Regions from separate parts of the Homo sapiens genome. Here region 1 is linked to region 2. Evidence: promoter capture Hi-C in 16 types of primary human blood cells and fetal thymus (Javierre and others, 2016). All regions are on one chromosome and are shown on one strand. Each heading gives the region's core, a stretch centred on a gene start or on the middle of the fragment in contact. The rest is flanking DNA. Distances are from core to core; before and after follow the strand shown. Region 1 overlaps ZNF143 (zinc finger protein 143). Region 2 holds the start of TMEM9B (TMEM9 domain family member B).

Evidence for each region. The method cuts DNA at HindIII sites, captures the fragments that hold promoters and counts their contacts. A CHiCAGO score of 5 or more calls a contact.
Region 1: a fragment that was not itself captured here is called in contact with the fragment with the promoter of TMEM9B in region 2 in 1 of 17 cell types (total CD8 T cells); the score reaches 5.0 in total CD8 T cells.

What each region holds. Positions count from the first base shown.
Region 1 is chr11:9,501,491-9,506,068 of GRCh38, forward strand. The region is part of intron 11 of ZNF143 (zinc finger protein 143); the gene reads left to right. Among named protein-coding and RNA genes, the nearest start is that of ZNF143, 43 kb to the left of the region's middle. The HindIII fragment of the contact is 1,751 bases long and covers 399-2,149 here.
Region 2 is chr11:8,961,779-8,966,434 of GRCh38, forward strand. It overlaps TMEM9B (TMEM9 domain family member B), which reads right to left and starts at 2,664. Exons shown (of 5, transcript NM_020644.3): 1 at 2,431-2,664; 2 at 314-405. The coding sequence starts at 2,535. TMEM9B-AS1 (TMEM9B antisense RNA 1) reads left to right here and starts at 2,897. Exons shown (of 5, transcript NR_073431.1): 1 at 2,897-3,370; 2 at 4,126-4,266. RefSeq lists silencers at 2,128-2,317, 2,358-2,857. The HindIII fragment of the contact is 10,613 bases long and covers 1-4,656 here.

The DNA of each region.
Region 1 (4,578 bases), core at 24-2,523, 540 kb after region 2:
ATAAGACATTGTCAAGGGCAGGCTACTTGGGAAGAGATAGTAGACATACAGTTGCTGCAGTGTCTCCCATTATATGGACAAGATGCTGTGGGAGCAGAGAGGGGAGCAGTCACTTCTGCAGGAATGGGAGAAGCATTTTGGGAGGGGTTTCTGGGAGATATTTGGCATACAGACTCAATCCTGAAGTTTGCCACATAAGAGAGAAGGGTATTCCTGGCAGGGGAAATGTCATGGGGAAAGGCACAAAGGTATGAAAAAGCATGATACTCAGTGGTTCCATATGACAGGAGCATTAAGTACATGTAGAAGATTTGTACAAGGTGAGTTCTGAGAGGTAGCCAGAGGCCTTGTGTGTTGTGCTGTCAAAGTTAAGGTACTTCTTAAACTGGACTTTGTGAAGCTTGTGAGGGGGCGGGGTGGTCTATGGATATATTCTTTTTTTTTTTTTTTTTTTTTTTTTTTTGGGATGGAGTTTCGCTGTTGTTGCCCAGGCTGGAGTGCAATGGCGCGATCTCGGCTCACTGCAACCTCCGCCTCCCAGGTTTAAGCGATTCTCCCACCTCAGCCTCCCTAGTAACTGGGATTACAGGCATGTGCCACCATGCCCGGGTAATTTTGTATTTTTAGTAGAGACGGGGTTTCTCCATGTTGGTCAGGCTAGTCTGAAACTCCCAACCTCAGGTGATCTGCCCGCCTCGGCCTCTCAAAGTGCTGGGAATCCAGGTGTGAGCCACCGCGCCTGGCCATATTCTTTTTTTTTTTTTTTTTTTTTTTTGGGAAACTGCTTTATTGAAATATAATTCACATACTATACAATTCATCTATTTAAAGTGTATGGGCCGGGCGCGGTGGCTCACGCCTGTAATCCCAGCACTTTGGGAGGCCGAAGTGAGCGGATCACGAGGTCAGGATATCGAGACCATCCTTGGCTAACATGGTGAAACCCCATGTCTACTAAAAACACAAAAAATTAGCCGGGCATGGTGGCGGGTGCCTATAGTCCCAGCTACTCCGGAGGCTGAGGCAGGAGAACAGCATGAACCCGGGAGGCAGAGCTTGCAGTGAGTTGAGATCGCACCACTGCACTCCAGCCTGAGCAAGAGCGAGACTCCATCTCAAAAAAAAAAAAAAAGTATGTGTTTCAGTGTTTTTTAGTATATTCACAAGGTTGTGCAACCATCACCACAATTCAATTTTAGAATATTTTCATTTCCCCTAAAAGAAATTCCATACTCAGAAGCAGTCCTTTCCCCACCCCGCCCCCCAGGTGTAAGCAATCACGAATCTACTTTCTCTTCTATGGGTTTGCCCATTCTGGATATTTTCATATAAATGAAATCATGCAGTATGTGGGGGGTTTTTGTCTGACTTCGTTCTCTTTGCATAATGGAGTGCAGTGGCGCAATCTCGGCTCACTGCAAGCTCCGCCTCCTGGGTTCACACCATTCTCCTGCCTCAGCCTCCCAAGTAGCTGGGACTATAGGCGCCTGCCACCATGCCTGGCTAATTTTTTGTATGTTTTAGTAGAGACGGGGTTTCACTGTGTTAGCCAGGACGGTCTCGATCTCCTGACCTCGTGATCCACCTGCCTCGACCTCCCAAAGTGCTGGGATTACAGACATGAGCCACCGCTCCTAGCCTGCATAATGTTTTTGAAGTTCAACCATGTTGTAGCAACTTTTAAATTCTTTCTTTTTTCAGTAACTGAATAGTATTTCATTATATGGATGTACTACATTTTGTTTATTCACCAGTTGTTTTCACTTCTGGCTATTAAGAATAATAATAGATTACATATGTCATATGTATTCCTTATATGCAATGAGCATTCATGTACAAGTTTTTATGTGGACATGTTTTCATTTCTCTTGGATGTGTACTTAGGAGTGGACTTGCTGGGTCATATGGTAACTCCATGCTTAACATTTTAGGAACTTCCAAACTGTTCTCCCAAGTGGCTGCACCATTTTACAGTCTCATCAGCAATGGATGAGGGTTCCAGTTTCTCCACATCCCAGCTAACAGTTGTTATTATCCCAGCTAACAGTTGTTATTATCTGTCTTTTTTTATTATAGCCATCTTAGTAGGTGTGAATTGGTATCTCATTCCGACTTTTGATTTGCATTTTTCTGATGGCTAATGATGTGAAGCTTTTTTTTTTTTTTTTGAGACGGAGTCACGCTCTGTCTCGCCCAGGCTGGAGTGTAGTGGTGTGATCTCAGCTCACTGCAGCCTCCGCCTGCCGGGTTCAAGCGATTGATTGATTGATCCTGTTTCAGCCTCCTGAGTAGCTGGGACTACAGGTGTGTGCCACCACACCCAGCTAATTTTTGTATTTTTAGTAGAGACAGGGTTTCACCATGTTGGCCAGGCCGGTCTCAAACTTCTGACCTCAGGTGATTCACCTGCCTTGGCCTCCCAAAGTGGTGGGATCACAGGCATGAGCCACCACGCCTTGCCTTTTTTTTTTTTTTTTTTTTTTTTTTGAGACAGAGTCTTGCTGTGTCACTCAGGCTGGAGTGCAGTGGCGCAATCTTGGCCTGCTGCACCCTCCACCTCCCACGTTCAAGCAATTCTTCTGCCTCAGCCCCCACAAGTAGCTGGGATTACAGACACCTGCCACCACACCCAGCTAATTTTTGTATTTTTAATAGAGATAGGTTTTCACCATGTTGGCCAGGCTAGTCTCAAACTCCTGACCTTGTGATCCTCCCACCTCAGCCTCCCAAACTGCTGGGATTACAGGTTTGAGCCACCACACCTGGCCAAAGCATCTTTTTATGTATTTATTAGCCATGTGTATATCTTCTTTGGAGAAATGTCTATTCAAATCCTTTGCCCGTTTTTAAAATTGGGTTGTGTCTTTATTACTGAGTTGTATAACTTTAATTCGAGAGACTTGAATCCAAGTCTCTTATTAGATATATTAGTTACAGATATTTTCTTCCATTCTGTGGCTGGTTTTTTAATTCTCTTAATGATATTTGCAGTATAGAAGCTTTTAATTTTAATGCTCCATTTTGTGGATGTATTTTTGGTGGGTGAGAATGGAAAGGCAAATGTGAGCGTAAGGCAGGATATGCATTAGTTTTATAAGAAAAATTTTAATATATTGTTTTATTACTGGTATTAAGAGTAAACTTGTGTTAATTCAAAATTAAAAGACATTTTTTTCTTTTTTCTTTTTTTTTTTTTTTTTTTGAGACAGCGTCTCGCTCTGTTGCCCAGGCTGGAGTGCAATGGCGTGATCTCAGCTCACTGCAACCTCCGCCTCCTGGGTTCAAGCGATTCTCCTGCCTCAGCCTCCTGAGTAGCTGGGACTACAGGCACCTGCCACCACGCCCAGCTAATTTTTATACTTTTAATAGAGACGGGATTTCACCATGTTGGCCATGACAGTCTCAATCTCTTGACCTTGTGATCCACCCGCCTCGGCCTCCCAAAGTGCTGGGATTACAGGTGTGAGCCACCACGCCCAGCCTCTTTTTTTTTTTTTTTTTAAGATGGAGTCACGCCCTGTCACCCAGGCTGGAGTGCAATGGCACGATCTAGGCTCACTGCAACCTCCGCCTCCTGGGTTCAAGTGATTCTCCTGCCTCAGCCTCCTGAGTAGCTGGGACTACAGGCGCATACCACCATGCCCAGCTAATTTTTGTATTTTTAGTAGAGACAGGGTTTCACCATGTTGGCCAGGATGGTCTCCATCTCCTGACGTTGTGATCCACCCACCTTGGCCTCCCAAAGTGCTAGGATTACAGGCGTGAGCCACCATGCCTGGCCAAAAGACTTTTTTTTTGAGATGGAGTCTCGCTCTGTCGCTCAGGCTGGAGTGCAGTGTCGTGACCTCAGCTCACTGCGACCTCTGCCTCCTGGGTTCAAGTGATTCTCCTGCCTCAGCCTCCCGAGTAGCTGGGATTACAGGCGCATGTCATCACGCTGAGCTAAGTTTTGTATTTTTAGTAGAGACAGGGTTTCACCATGTTGGCCCAGCTGATCTTGAACTCCTGACCTCAGGTGAGCCACCACGCCCAGCCCTGATATGCAATTTTTGTGTGCTATACATAAACATGTACCTACGAATGAGTTCACTTACTGTTAAATAATTATGGCCAGGCATGGTGGCTCACACCTGTAATCCCAGCACTTGGGGAAGGTCAAGGTGAGCAGATCACTTGAGGTCAGAGTTTCGTGACCAGCCTGGCCAACATGGTGAAACCCTGTCTCTACCAAAAAATACAAAAATTAGGCCTGGTGGTGGGCACCTGCAATCCCAGCTACTTGGGAGACTGAGGCAGGAGAGTTGCTTGAACCTGGGAGGTGGAGGTTGTAGTGAGTCAAGATCATGCCACTGCACTCCAGCCTGGGCGACTGAGTGAGACTCCATATCAAAAAAAAAAAAAAAAAAAGGAAAAGACAATTCATCTTTTAAGTGCTTCTTATTAAAATATATGTGCTTAAGTGCCTTTTTGTAATATTTGGAGAAAATGGCTGGGGCTTTTTGGATGGGCTGGGAAAACATTATTTTTCCCATTTAAATTAATGGAATATAGATAGAGCTTGGCGCAGTAGTAGCTCAT
Region 2 (4,656 bases), core at 1,414-3,913:
AAAGGTCCCTCACCAAAACTTGAGGGAGTACAGCAAGATAGCTATGGGTAGTTTAGGTGCCACAAACCCAGTCATATGCTCCCATGAAACTCTGCCTACATGGGTCTTAGTGTTTTGGCTGTATACCTTTAGGCCTGCAGGCATCATGCACGTAGGGCCTCACTCTCACTTTTTCAAATGGAAGTAGAATTTCACATTTTTGCTTCAAATGAAATACTTAAAAAGAAAACTATGCATTTGATGAACATTCTGGGATAACACTGACAACCACAGAAACAAATGTGACAGGTAATTCAGTAATCCAGATACTTACCAATCTTTCTGAGATATGTTCTTATTATAAATATGCCCAGAATTTTCTTTATAGGGAGGGCAGATACATTTACATCTGACATCCTCGAAATTCTGTAACCAAAATGGAAACAGTATAGTGCGTTGACAGTTTATCATCAATATTTTTAAAAACTGTACCATATACATTTTGCCAAGCATCCTCTTTAGAATACCAAGTATTCTAAAATCATTCATTTAAAACTTTAACAGACACAGTTTTTAAAAGCCACAGTCCTTTATGGTAATGCCAATGAATCATTATATATTACATGTAGTTATTTTGAAATAATACCTAATACATGATCTAAGACTTATTAACCATATTTATGGGTCACATGACAATCAAATTATGTTAATGTTATTACCATCTATCTGCCACTAGAAAGACACATGGTAAGCAGATAGTTGTGCCTGTAAATAAGAATATTCATTACTAAAGGATGGGAAAGAAACTAAAAATTATTCACAAAAAAGGTCACAATTCTACCTATCATCCTTTCACCCTCTGGTAGAAGGCACTGACATTGATAAAACGGGTTGGGCCAGAGTCCCGTAGAAGGGATGAAATGTTAGAGGCACCCACCTACAACTAGAAAGGAAGTACACACAGGAAGTAGCCTGACTCTGAGATCAGTTTAGTATACTCTTCCCAGGAAACTTTGCTTCTAATTCCTGGTTGACAGACAGAACAACTACCAACAAAACAAGTTTCAAGAGGTGGAGGAACAGGTGACTAAGTATCTGGATAGAGAAAAGAAGAGATGCTTCCTCAGCAAAGGGGAATCTGTTTGAGAAGGAAGTGGCTTATCATTCCCCAGAGGACCTTGCCCACTCCTCCTATATACAGTGATATGTCTGGCAGAGCTATTGACAATTCACAAACGTATTCAGCAACCACTTAGTGAGCATTTGCTCTGTGTTAGATCTTGTGCTCAATAAGGTGGATTCAGATAAGCATAAGACATGGTTTCTGCCCATAACCAGGACACACCCTAGTAAAGGAGACTGAAAAATAAATACATGATCACAATACATAAAGTTATGAGGCAAGATATGCAGAGGGTGCCAGCAATGTTTTCAAAGTCAGGAGACGTGCTGCTGTCCCTGTTTCTGGTAGGAGGTAGAGATGGTTTCAAAAAGAATCTCTGAATCAAAAACATTTGCCTGCCTGTAACCTTTCCCCACTCCTACATTTAAAGATATTATAAATTAAAGCTCTTATTTTTAAAAACGCAATGTCATTCTGTTTTCCCATCATACTAATGTGAATCCCTTCTGTTCTCCCCCAATGATGAGCTAGCTCATCAAAGAGGAAGCACAGGTATGCATGGAGCTAGGGCAGGTCTGGAGAGCTGGGGCACCAGAGAACAGTATGAGGGAACTAGAAGGTCAAGAAATCGAACCAGGGAGGCCACAACCTCACCTCTCTTGCAGTTTGGTTCTTCCCTTACCCACTAAATTATCAGGAAGAGAGAAAGCAAGAAAGGCACCAAGGGACTCGTGGAGGGAGTTAGGTGAGAATATGAAGCAGGTGAGAGATGCTCCGTAGGCCCTATTGGGAGGGAAGTAGGCCAGGAGGGGCAAGTTCCCACCACAGGAAGGGAAGTGTTCAGGGGTGAGCTGAGCTGAGTCGGCCCTTGACAGGGAAGGCTCTGTCAGATGGGGGCTTCCTATCATTCTGGCTTGGGGCATGCGGGGCCTGTGAGGCTGGCGGAGGGCGCAGGTGGGCTGTCAAGAGCTTAGGGTGGAAAGTTAAAGGCTCTCGGAGGTGAAAAGGTTGTCAAGTGTAAGATGCGTGCAGCCGGGGCTGGGAAGGGAAATGTTAAGGCGGTGGGGGGCTGCTGTCCGGACTGTGGGCACTGTCGGGGCTGGGGACGACCGTGGGGCGCTGCCTGCCAGGCTGTCGGGGCTGAGGGCGAGAGTGCCGCCGGGCAGTCGGGAGGGGCGGGGCTGGTGGCGGCGGGGGTCTGCCGGAGCTGTGAGGCCAGGCGTATGGCTGTCAGGAATGGGCCAAGGAGCAGGTTGGCAGACCCAGTTTCCGCAAGGCCGGTGGTAGGGGAGGAGCTTCCGTCAGGAGCGAGGCTGGGCGGGACTCACCTTGGCGGCGTCTGACAGCTGCGCCAGCAGCAGCACGGAAAGCGCCAGGCACGACAGGCTGAGCAAGGAGCCAAGCCGAAGAAGGCCTCCCCACAGGGTCGCCATCGCTGGGGGCCCAGCGGTCCCACAGCCCGGAGCCCCCGCGACCGGCTCCCGGCTCGGGCTCAGGCTCAGGCTCAGGCTCAGGCACAGGCTTGGGACCCGGCTGGGGATCCTCCGCCCGCACTTCCGTCTGGACGCGAAGGCGTCACCGGGCGCGCCGGGTCAGATGCAAAAAGCATCCGCCCCGGAACCGGTTACCAGTGCGAAGGGCCGGGAGGCTGGGCAGTCCTGGTGCCCGCCTTGGCCTAGCCCCGGCCCCGGGACGGAAGGGGGCCTCTGGGGTGGCAGCCTGGGCCCAGTAGAGCTTTGCATCTCTTGGATATCTTTCCCGGGCGCAGAAGCTGCGGGGCTTAGGGAGTCGCCATTGCGCTGGAAAGTCCTCCCGCCCACGGAGACCCCAGCAAACTCCGAGTGTCACACAGTCGCCTCTGGCGACCCGTGCGGGCCGGAGCCGTTCGCGCACAGGCAGGGCGGGTGCTGAGCGTGGAAACGGGGCTGGAATTGGCCGAGCCATGCCTTTCCGGGATGCCCACCGCCAGTCAAAGGGTTGGGGGTGGTCTCTGCACCTTAAGTACTAACCTGCCGCCCACGCGCCTCCTGACCACAGCACCCCGTCGGCTTTCTAATTCTGTGAGCTGCCCTCGTGGGCGTGGCCTCCCTGTGGAGCTCCCCATGTGCCTCCCCTTGGTCCAGCCTGCAGCTAGGAAGTGGGTCACAGCGACGGGGCTGGGCTGGGCCAGGCCAGGCTCCGGGAGATGTGGAATTGGCGAAACAACTGCCCCAGTAGTATCCTCCGCCTAGGACTCCAAGAGGTGGCGAATTGGGGCACTACGCCCGGGTAAGGCAGTGCCTGTTCAGGGCTGCCGACCTGTCTCCCCAGGGCTGTCATTCTCAGCAAGTACTTTAGGAGTGCCTTAGATCGGCACATTCTCCCATTGAAATATTTTTGTTAGTGGAGACAAGGGAGGTAATGGCAAGGACACGGATCATCACAGCCCCTAGGGATTTGTTGAATGACCTTTGGCAAATCACTTCCCTTCTCTGGGCCTGTAGTTCTTGGCTGAATATGAGGGAATGGATTTCAAATTATGCTCCATGTAATACCCGTGTTTTTACCTCTGTAAACAGATTTTTTTGTTTTTTTTGAGACGGAGTCTCGTTCTGTCCCCCGGGCTGGAGTGCAGTGGCGCGATCTCGGCTCACTGCAACCTCCGCCTCCCGGGTTGACGCCATTCTCCTGCCTCAGCCTCCCTAGTAGGTGGGACTACAGGCGCCCGCCACCACGCCGCCCGGCTAATTTTTTTTTTCTTTTTCTTTTTCTTTTTTTTTTTTTGTATTTTTAGTACAGACAGGGTCTCACTGTGTTAGCCAGGATGGTCTCGATCTCCTGACCTTGTGATCCGCCCGCCTCGGCCTCCCAAATTGCTGGGATTATAGGCGTGAGCCACCGCGCCCGGCCCCAACAGATTTTTAAAGATGGTCTTTTCCCAATTTGTGGAAATGTTTTAACAGAATGCTCTCAATATTTTTCGCCCATGTGATTCTTAGATTCATGTGAATCTAACACAACGTATCTGATACTGTTCCCAACAGGAACCAGGGTGGCAGGGCTAGATGTCCTCTCACCAGACTGCCCAGTGAAGGTGCTGTCACTTTGATGAATTATCAAGGCTTTGTAGTGGGTCTTCTACTGGACAAAGGACAAACTGGAGACTCCCTGGATCAAATGTGTTGGTGAGGCACTGAATCTGATTGCTGAAAGGTGATTCAGCTGCAAGTTAGGCATCAGTTTAGGGTTTTCTAGGCTTGGCATCTAAAGGGAGTGCCTGCTGTAGCTGAAACCTCATAGGCCTTCTCTTCCTTCCGAATTGTTTTCAAGGCCTTGGGGGTACAGAGACTTAGAGAAAATACATAGTTGTGCCTCAGACTGATGGGCCTCATCTGTTTAATGGAGAAACACCAAGCACACTCAGTCTGGGCGGAATTTTAGAGCTCCATAGTATAACCACTATCTAGCTACATGTGGCAATTGAGCATTTGAAATGTGGCTAGACTGAATTGAAATGTGCTGTATAAAATATACACTTAATTTCAAAGACAATATTTTTAAAATGTAAAATATTT